2 separate regions of the Homo sapiens genome follow, and region 1 is linked to region 2. The links are contacts of gene promoters, found by promoter capture Hi-C in blood cells and fetal thymus (Javierre and others, 2016). All regions are on one chromosome and are shown on one strand. Each heading gives the region's core, a stretch centred on a gene start or on the middle of the fragment in contact. The rest is flanking DNA. Distances are from core to core; before and after follow the strand shown.

What was found. The method cuts DNA at HindIII sites, captures the fragments that hold promoters and counts their contacts. A CHiCAGO score of 5 or more calls a contact.
Region 1: the fragment with the promoter of FNDC5 here is called in contact with the fragment with the promoter of ZSCAN20 in region 2 in 3 of 17 cell types (fetal thymus, total CD8 T cells and total CD4 T cells); the score reaches 6.2 in fetal thymus.

The regions. Positions count from the first base shown.
Region 1 is chr1:32,868,615-32,873,314 of GRCh38, forward strand. FNDC5 (fibronectin type III domain containing 5) reads right to left here and starts at 2,298. Exons shown (of 6, transcript NM_001441683.1): 1 at 2,039-2,298; 2 at 268-383. The coding sequence starts at 2,276. RefSeq lists an enhancer at 4,066-4,700. The HindIII fragment of the contact is 9,260 bases long and covers 1-4,700 here.
Region 2 is chr1:33,470,644-33,475,824 of GRCh38, forward strand. It overlaps ZSCAN20 (zinc finger and SCAN domain containing 20), which reads left to right and starts at 2,002. Exons shown (of 8, transcript NM_001377376.1): 1 at 2,002-2,048. RefSeq lists a silencer at 1-259. The HindIII fragment of the contact is 14,362 bases long and covers 1-2,155 here.

The DNA.
Region 1 (4,700 bases), core at 1,048-3,547, 600 kb before region 2:
CTCTGAGATCAAAACCTTAATTTCTGTGTTCCACTTGAAAGTTCCCAAACCCTCCCTCACTGACTGATTCTCTTCTAGAGAATTTTCAGACATATGTCTGAATGGGGCCCCAATTTTCAGACATATGTCCAAATTGCTGTTCATCTCCCTTGCCCCAAGTTCCTATTTCCTTTCTATTTCTCCATCACCACCACTGCCACACTCCTACCCCCATCTGCCACTACTGTCTTGATGTGTCCTTCCCTCCTAAGGACAGTGGAGCATTACCTGCTGGGAGATGGCAAATCCGATGACAACCTCATCCTCCAGAACATCCCAGCTCACCACTGCAGAGTTGGCCTTGAGGTGCCTGACGGTGACGTTCACTGGGGCTGAGGGACTGTCTGGGGGACGGGGAGGCACCTAAGCCTGAGCATCCCCTATTGTGAGGCCCAGACCCACTGTCTCATAAGTAAGAAGGGGAAACCTGGGGAAGGCCATGCAGGAGGGGAAGGAAGAAACTAAGGCCTCAAGTGGGGTCCAGTGACATGGCTCTCAGCTCTTCAGTGGGTTGAAGAACCAAGCCCAAGAGGCCCCAGGCTCCTCATGACTGGGACGGAAGCCCCTGCTGGCCACAGGCCGGCCCCATGAGGGGTCCAAGGCTCAAAGTGATGGGCCTGGGCCGGGGCCCTATCTAAGGGATGGGTGGTTAGAGTTGTGGAGAGAGTTATGTAGGGGACATAGGTGGACAGAAACTGAAGGTTAGCTGATGAAAAGCAGACAAAAGGACTCCCCAGTCCAGTGCTCTTTTGACAATACTGCCCTGTCCAATGAGTGACCTTGCGCGAAGGAGAAAGACCCAGAGATCGAGAAGTGTCAGGCTGGGGTGAGCCCTGGACTGGGAGTGAGGAGAACAGAAGTATCCTCAGAGCTGTGGTGGCCCAGGCAGAATAAAGCCTGCGGAAGAGTCTGTGTGAGCCTCTTATCCATGCTCTTCCAGCCCCAAGATGCAGGTGGGGAGGTGGCAGGGGAAGATGGGGTCACTCAGAGCAGGGCCCCTCCATGGCGAGTGGAGAGGAGAGAACAGGTAGGGGAAGAGGATGAATGAGGAATCACTCCAGAAGAGACAGGAGGGAAGTGGGGGTGAGAGTGATAGGGATAGTGGGGGTCAGTGAGGAAAACCGTCCAGGAGAGGGGCAGTGCAGTCACATAAGGCTCAGTATCTTCCAAGGGGCAGGTGCAGCACGGGGCAGAGCTGCGCCTGAGCAGCACCCCTCACCCCACAGAGAGTGAACTTGAGACCCAGGGGGCTGGGCCTGGGACCTGAGGGAGACAGAGCCAGACATGGAGGGGGAGGTGGAGAGACAGGACACAGACAGGTGGTGGCAGACACAGAACCAGAGGACAGAGAAGTGGGGCATCTGAGAAAGACAGCTGCGAGAGAGCGCTCCCCGAGCCACGGAGGGAGAGATGAGCCGGGCAGCGGCAGCCAGGAGGGACAAAGACAGAGTGGCAGGAGAGGCTGGGCAAGGACGGGCCGGCCCCATGGGGCAGGCCAGACACTGTACCAGATCAGGGGTGCCGGGGCCCACCCCACGCCCTGCGCCCTCAGGTGCCAGCCCCCATCCCCTTCACACGTGCTCCTGCACAGCGGGACCCCATCTGCCCCTGCAGAGTTGGCTTGCAGGGCTTTGAGAGGTCCTGGGGACACAGAGAGAGGCCCAGGTGGGGGAACTGGTGTCCTCAGCTGCTCCCTGGGTCAAAGAAGGGAGCTAGGGAAGCTGAGGCAAAGACCTGGGGTTAGGGGAATGGGATTAGGGGACTGGGGACCACAAGACCCTAGGAAACCCAGGGCTGAGGTGACAGGGGAGATTTGGAAACTGAAGGACAGGTCTGGGGGTCAAGGAGGTAGGAAGACGCTGGGGGCTGGGTTAGGGGAGCAGTGTTTGGGCCGAGACAGGAGTCCCTAGGGGGCAGAGAAAGGACCAGGGGACTCCCAGGTAGCTGGGCTCGAGAGGAGCCTGCCCCGGCGCCGGCCCCCCGCCCCGGGCCCCCTTACCCGCCTGCACCAGCGCGAAGCAGACGCAGCCCAGCCACAGGCGGAGCGCGGCGCGGGCGCGGGGCGGCCAGGCGCTCGGCGACCCGGGGTGTATGGTGGCTCCTCCGGCCGGCAGGCCCGGGGCGGCGCAGGGGGACGCGGCTCCGGCGCCCGGCGGCCGCTCGCGCTCGCGCTCCGGCCCCCGGCCCGGCCGGCCCGGCCGCTCCGGCCGCCCTGCGCCGCCCCGAGCCGCCTGCATGTCGGCTCCGCGGACAGCGACTCCCGCGCGGCGGCGGTGGCGGCGGCCGCGTCCACGTCGGGCGCCCGGGGGGCGGGGCGCCCCCGCTGCGGGGAGAGGTGCGGGGGCGGGGTGAGGACCGGAGGGCGCCCCCACTCCCGCCCCCGCTGCCTATTAGGTCCTCTGCCGGGGAGGAAGGGGCTTCGCGGACCCACGGCTCCCGCCCTCTCACCGAGCGGGAGCCCAGCGGGGTTCTCCGCGCCCCCGCCGCGGTCACTCTCTCTCCCGTGCACAGCCCTGACTTGGCTGCCGCTTTCTGCCCTTTCCCAGGGTAGAGAGAGGACAAGTGCCACCGAGATGCCCGTTTGTGCCCCCACCCCTAAGCGCGCCTCCCTTCCCTGGGCCTAGGGATCCCCTCATTCCACGGTAGACCCGAGGCCTTGCGGCTGGGGCAGACGGGAGCAGAGGGGAGAGATCACAGTAAGGCTGGGGTGAGCAGAGAGTGCTAAGTGGACACTAGGGCTCCGTGTTTCCAGTGGGGTTGGGAAGAGGCTGCTCTGTCTCACTGGAGAGTCCAGCTCTGTGACCCCAGGCCAGTCCTTTTCCTTCATTTTCATCCCCATAGTGAGGGCAGTAATGAGCGTCTACCAGGGGCCAGATACTATGCTGAGCTTTCTTTGCATTATGTGGCTTAATTCTCAGGGCAACCCTGTAAAGTCATACTCTGCACACTTTGCACAGGAGGAGCCTGCAGCTTGGACAGGCTACTTGACTTGTCCAGGGACCCGCAGCAGAGCCAGGATTTGAACACAGGCTGATCTGACTCCCAAAGCTGTGCTTAACTGAACTGTCTCCCCACCCAGAGTGACTTCACCCATCCGGAGATTCGTGAGACTCTAGAATTGGCCGGGGCCAGCTCCTCCCCAGCCAGAAAACAGTCTGCAGCAATCTCTAAGAGCATCTCTGAGAAGGGGAGTGGCTCCAGCCCCCTTCCCTCATCTCAGCCAGAGAAACAAGGTGGAGGAGAGAGGCATGGACCAGGGCTCAGGGCCTTTTGTCTCAGCAAGAACCCCTGAGCCCCCTCCCACGACTATCCGAAATTCCACTACTAGCGGGGCATTCCTTTGGGTCTTAAAGGTTTTCCAGAAGCCCTGGAAGGGCTAATTTTCTTTGGAAAGGAGACGTCTTGCAAAGTTCTGCCACAGAAACGTCTTCAGGGTCTTCCTCTCCATCCCCCTGGTTTTACATTAAGGAAGTGAGGTCTACCGATGGGAAGAGCTTGGTGCAGATTCACACAGTGGGTCAAGAGGAGCGATAGACAACCCTCCTCTCCTTATGCCCACCCAGGACTCCTTCGCTGGCCCTGTGTTCCTCCTTGGTCACCTTGGAAGGGGTGAGATGGAAGCGAGCTTAGGGGCTCTTGTTGAGCAGCAGAATTTTCCTGCCCATCCCCTCAGTGCCCCCAGACCTGCCCCACTCGGCAGGGTGACACTGCCCAGCCCTATCATTTCCCCCGCCACATACCTTGTCCTGGGAGAGCCTCAGCTGGGACCTCGACCCGTTTGGGAGAAGAGCCCCGGAGCCAGAGCACCTCTCTCTCTCTTTTCTCTTTGCTCTCTTTCTCTTTCTCTCCCCTTATTATCTTCTCTCTCTTTCTCCCCGCAGCTGCTGCCTGCCCCACCCCACCCGGCCCCGCCCCACCAGCTGCAGCTTAGCCCCTAGGGACCCCCCACCCCCCATCCATCAGACAGGAAGACAACCAGGAGGCCCGCAGGAGCAACTGGAGCCTCTTCAGGCCTCCAGCACAGGAACCAGCAGGAAGGAGAGGGTTCAGTTAGAGGACACAGAATCTACTCCCGTCCCTGCAGGGGAGAAAAGGAGGGAGGGTCCTGGTGGGGTCTTGGCCTCCAGTCCAGCGCTGGGGAAAGGGGAACCTTGGCGCCATCTGCTGGCCTCTTTGGGTAAAACCTAGATAGATGTAGGGCATTGGGAGGGAGGAGATGGCAGTGCCTGAGGGCTTGAGAGAGAAGGCGGCTGAAGGAGGGGGCTTGGAGGATTTGGAGAGTTGTGACTGTGGGGGTACAGCCTTCTCAGTCCTCATGATGCATGGGGTGCTTGGGCCTTAATTCTGGGGAAAGCCCTGGTGCCTGGAATCTGGCAGCCAGTGAGAGCTGGCTGGGAGGATTTAGTGGAGCCCTGGGTGAACTTGGGAGGGAGCTGTCAGAAGCAGCCACTGCAGGCCAGGGCGCTGGCTCACGCCTGTAATCCCAGCACTGTGGGAGTCCGAGGTGGGTGGATCACCTGAGGTCAGGAGTTCGAGACCAGCCTGGCCAACATGGTGAAACCCCGTCTCTACTAAAAATACAAAATTAGCCGGGCATGGTGGTGTGTGCCTGTAATCCCAGCTACTCTGGAGGCTGAGGCATGAGAATCATTTGAACCTGG
Region 2 (5,181 bases), core at 752-3,251:
TGAGGGCGAGGCGCGCCCTCTTGTGTCCTAATGATGTCCTCTCCTCTCTCTGCACACTCGCCTCCCTTCTTCCTCTTAGGGCAGATGATGCTGAAGTGGACACGTCCTTACCTGACCCTGCAAAGCTGCCTCTCCAGCTTCAGATCCTGACACTCTCTCAAATGTTTCCGGCTCCCTTGGCACCCCACACTGTTGCACTGTCCCTCCCCATCTCAAACCCTCCTACTTCCACATATGGTCTCTTCCTCATGCAGTGTAGGACCTTTGGAGTCACATGCCTAGGGGGTGACAAATCGCAGCCCTGGTTCTTATTGGCTCTGTGATCTTGAGTAGGTCACTTCGTTTCTCTAAGTCTCATTCCCTCTTTGTAAAGTGGAGCAAACAATACCAATCTCATAGGGCTACTGTGAGACTTCAACACCAAGGAGTATTTACGGGTTGTTATTATGTTTACTGAGTAAAATCACATGAGTTATTACTACAAATAAGTTGGAACATGTTTCACAGAGAAGGAATTTAAACTGGGTCGTTAAAGCTAAGAATTCTCCTATTTTAACACTAGCCAACATGCATTGAGCTCTTACCAGATGCTAGGTATTGTCAATTTTCCCTAAGCCGCATAACCATTGGTAATAATAATAATAGCTAATGATTATGTATATTATTGTATTTTCTATTTTTTAAAATAGAGACGAGGTCTCACTTCGCTGCCCAGGCTGGTCTCAAACTCCTGGACTAAAGCGATCCTTCCGTCTCAGCCTCCCAGAGGGCTGGGATTACAGGCATGAGCCTCCGTGCCTGGACTAGCTAATGATTATTAAACACTTTCTGTGTGTCAGACATGTGTCACGCTCTTTACATACCTTCTCCCATTTATTCCTCTCAACAACTGTCTCAGGAAGAGGCAAGTATTATCATTCCCATTTTACAGCTGGGAAAATGCAGGCATAAAGAAGCTAAGTAATTTGCCCAAGGTTTCACAACGCGGGTGGTATGACCTGCATCCTTCATTTGAAAGTAAGAACTTTCAGACACAAGCAGCTTGACTTCAGAGACTTTTACCTAAATAGTCTCATTTAACCTTCATAACACCCTGTGATGTAAGTTCTCTTACATTACTTGCATTTTATAGATGAAAATTCCAAAGACAAAATAGATGGCAGTAATTTGTTCAAGGCCACACAGCTGCGAAGTAGTTGAGTTGGGATTTGGATCCATGTCTGACTACAAAGCCCCCATTCTCAACACCACATTAGATTGTTCATGCCCCAAAGTATTCACAGTGGTACAGAGCACCCGCATTTATATGAGGATTATTTTGTAATAATGATTAACATTCTTCCAACACCTAGGAAGTGCCAAGCTCTGTACTAACTGATTTACATAATAATAGCTAACAATCGCTGTGCATTATTAGGAGCCAGGCCCTGAGCTAATCGTTTTAGGTGTATTATCTCATTGAAAGTTCACAAAACTCTGTGACATGGATGCCATTACTACCCTCATTTTATGGTTGAAGAGAACGAGGTTCAGAATTCTTCCAAAGTCACACAGCTTAGCTGTAAGCTGGAAATTAAAGCTACAACTGTCCAGTTCTCTCCTGCCTATCGGGCTGGTCACCTCTAGTCATTCTCTCTTCTTATTTCTTATTGTGTCTGCTTTGATCTTTCAGGGTCTGAGGCTCTCACTTCGACCCCTCAGTAGAACTGGGCCCCCTTCTGCTCGAGTGCCCTCCCATTGGGCGGTGCTGTTATCCGGAAGCCTATGGAAAAGGCCAGGATCGCAACAGGTCCCGCCCCCATGTGTCGCGCCCGTTCCGATTTGTTCCAGTGCCAGGGTCCGTTAGAAGATGACATATCTATTGGCTGAAGACGTCTGAAAGGCAGCAAACGGAGGGGGCCGCCCCCGGCGCTCGCGCGGTTCCTTCTGGGAATTGTGGTCTCAGACGTTCCATTCCCAGGGTGGCGCCGCTCGGACTCCGCGTCCCAGCATTCCCCGCACGAGCCCGGGAGCACTTCCGCCCTGTTGTGAAGTGGGTGTCTCGGTGGGTGAGTCCGGGTGGCGGGGCGGGGGCAGCTGAGACGCAGGCTCTGGGCTGGAGACTTAGGAGGTGGTGGTGACACAGGGGGCTGGGGAAGGTGAGAGGGGAGAAAGAAGCTTATATGTGGGGGTGGAGGGTGAGGGACGGTCAAAGGATGTAGAGGCCGGAGATGGGAAGGGTCATACAGGGGTCGGGGATGAGGAGGCGATAGAGGGCCCTGGGAATGAGGAGGGCCTTAGAAGGGTCTGAAGGTGAGGGGGTTGAGGGAGGTTTTGGAGGTGGGAGAGTCATAGAAAGGTCTGGAGACCACAGAGGAAAGGATAGAGGGTCTGGGGCCCTGGCAAGAAGTGAAGAGGGCCTGAGCTTGAAGCCCGACCTTAAAAATAGTGTTTCAATCTCTACCTTCCCATCTAGAACAAGCATATCTAATTTGTTACCTCCCTAATGATTGTTACCTCTGGAACCCAGTGGATGGGACTGGCTATTGTGTTCTGCCCCAAACCTGCACTTCTTTCCTTATGTCTTATGGAAGTCAGTGGCACGATCATCCCATTTACCTACCTACCTACCTACTTACCCACTGATTCCTCTTGCATTCTTCCACGTCCAAGGATCTTCCGATCTTTAATTTCTTTAATATCTTTTCAGTCGGCCTCTTTCTTGTAGGGTTTTCGCAGAAGCCTTTTCAGTTTCCCAGCATGAACACACACATTGCACCTAGTGTGATCTGTTTCACCTACAAATCTGATTATGCCTTCTGCTTGAAAACTTTCATTGGCACCCAGCACCTGTAAAGTCCAAACACCTTGTCCTTCATAAACTCCTTTTGCAGCCTAATCTTCATGCACCTCACACTCCAGGGCTGTCAAGGTTTTCCTCGTTTCCTGGGTAGGCCATTTGGTTTTCCATCATTATATATGCTGTTCTCTCAGCTTAGAATATTCTCTCCTTGCCCTTCACCTTCTTTGCCAAGAGAACTTCTTTAACTTAAAAAAATTTCAACTCTTACTTTGCTCAATTCCCTTAAGCAAATTAAGTCACCCCCAACCCTCAGCTCCCATAACTTCTCCTATTACCACATTTGATCATAATTATCTGTGAAGTGTGTGTCTCTTCCATTAGACTGTGAACATCTCCAGGACAGGAACAGTGTCTCAATCACCTCTGTTTCCCCATTGCCCAGTCTAGAGCAGTAAACACTTGATGTAAAGCAGTAAATACTTGATGTATGTATGTGTGAATGAAGACCATGCAGGGTAAGCTTTGCTATACCAGCCTTGAAGACTTCTATTGCCAGTGGATTTCCAGGGCAGGAGCTTTAGTCTTCCTCTGCCTGGCAAGGCTATCTGCTGGAAGCTGAAGCTGATTCATTGCCAATGGGAGTTTAAGCCAGGGGTGACAAATACATGGAATGTGTGCTGCCAGTGCCCCTTCCTGTGTCCCTGGCAGTCATGGCTAATTGGTTGGTTCTCAGCACATATTCACACTGTACTCAGAGCCCTCAGCACACTACTCTAGGCAGCCACTTCCAGTTGATTGAAGTTTCTGCTTTAAATGAAACCTATTTGCTCTCCCTGGCTTAAGCCCTTATGTGTGAGGTCAGGTCAGACTGCTTTAAGCCATAGCTTGGACTGTCAGCCAAATGGGCCTGACAGCCTTTAAGAGTTCCCAGTTTTTTCTCTTTGGAGGTCACAGACCAGTCTTGGCCTTTCCTGTGGAACTGGAGAGCATCTTCTCTTCCCTTTTCACTGAGTGGGCTCCTCATGACCACGTTCATACTTACTGCCCTAGGAGTCAAGATGCCCCTCAGCTTCCCTGTGTTTGTAAAGACATCTTGATTTTGATGGCAGTCAGCACTTATCCCTCATGACCTGGGAGGCTCTGTACTCTTTCTAGGTCTTTCTGGATATTGGAAGAGAGCTTTGAGATCACTTAGCTGAATCTAAGTGGCAAAGCGACAGCCCATGCTGAATGAAGTCCACCATCATGCTTTATTTAATCTCATAGTGTGTGAAAAAATTTTGAGTTGGTTACCAACATTTAAAAATCCAGAGTGCTAGTTTCTTTTGGAAAAATCAGCAGGCTTAGGAATATTCTGGGCATATGTTCCCCTGGCACTCTATAGTTGGCTGTAGTGCCCACCCAGTTCATTTCAGTCATTGACTCATTTACATTGCTAGGTCCTTATACCCATTTAAACTTGTAGCCACTGACTCTAGTCTCCCTTCTCCCTTGCTCTACCCCATCATACTAATTGGGGAACCTAGGGCAACTGCTGAGTAAGATCAGGCTGTAAGCTGCAGCCTAGCTAGGCAGCCACAGGGGCTACATAACTTGTCCAAAGTAACACAGCTGATTAGTGGCAGGAGTGGAACTAGAACCCCAGTCTGCTCACTCCTGCCTTAATGTTCTTTCCATTCTCCCGTACTGTCATCTTAAGAGTTTGGATGACTAGCACACATAGAGGAGGCTATAAGACATGGTTAAGAAAAATGATTGGAGAAAAGGGATCTCGGCTTAGACCCTAACTCTACCACTTGCTAGTTGTGTAACCTTAAGTGAATCTTCATAAACACTCAGTTTCCCTTTAGGTAATTGAGGATATAGTGCAGTCATACCTTATCAGATAATAATATTCTAAGGGTGAAAATCACTTTAGCCAAAAATCACAGTTAGTTTGAAAATCCTTTGGCAAGGAGCCGTTTCAGAAACTAACACGCTGCCTTTCAATAAATAAACTAATCAGCACAGCTGGGCTTTCTTGTTTGAACATTAGATGAGAATTCGCTTGTATTAGGGACTGTGCGGTATGAAAGACACTTTACTCACACTTAGTGGAAAGAGAGGCACGAGGGAATCAAGACCAACCTGGTGAATAGCGAAGTCCTAGGTGCCACCACCACATGCTTATTCTCGAACAGATAGTGAACGCAACTGGCTGCACTATTTAAATCATGCTCTTTCTCTCTTTCTTTTTTTTTTCTTCTTTTTCTGAGACAGAGTCGTGCTCTGTTGCCCAGGCTGGAGTGCAGTGGCACGATCTCAGCTCACTGCAACCTCCGCCTCCTGGGTTTAAGCAATTCTCCTGCCTCAGCCTCCCGAGTAGCTGGGATTACAGGTACGAGCCACCACGCTTGGCT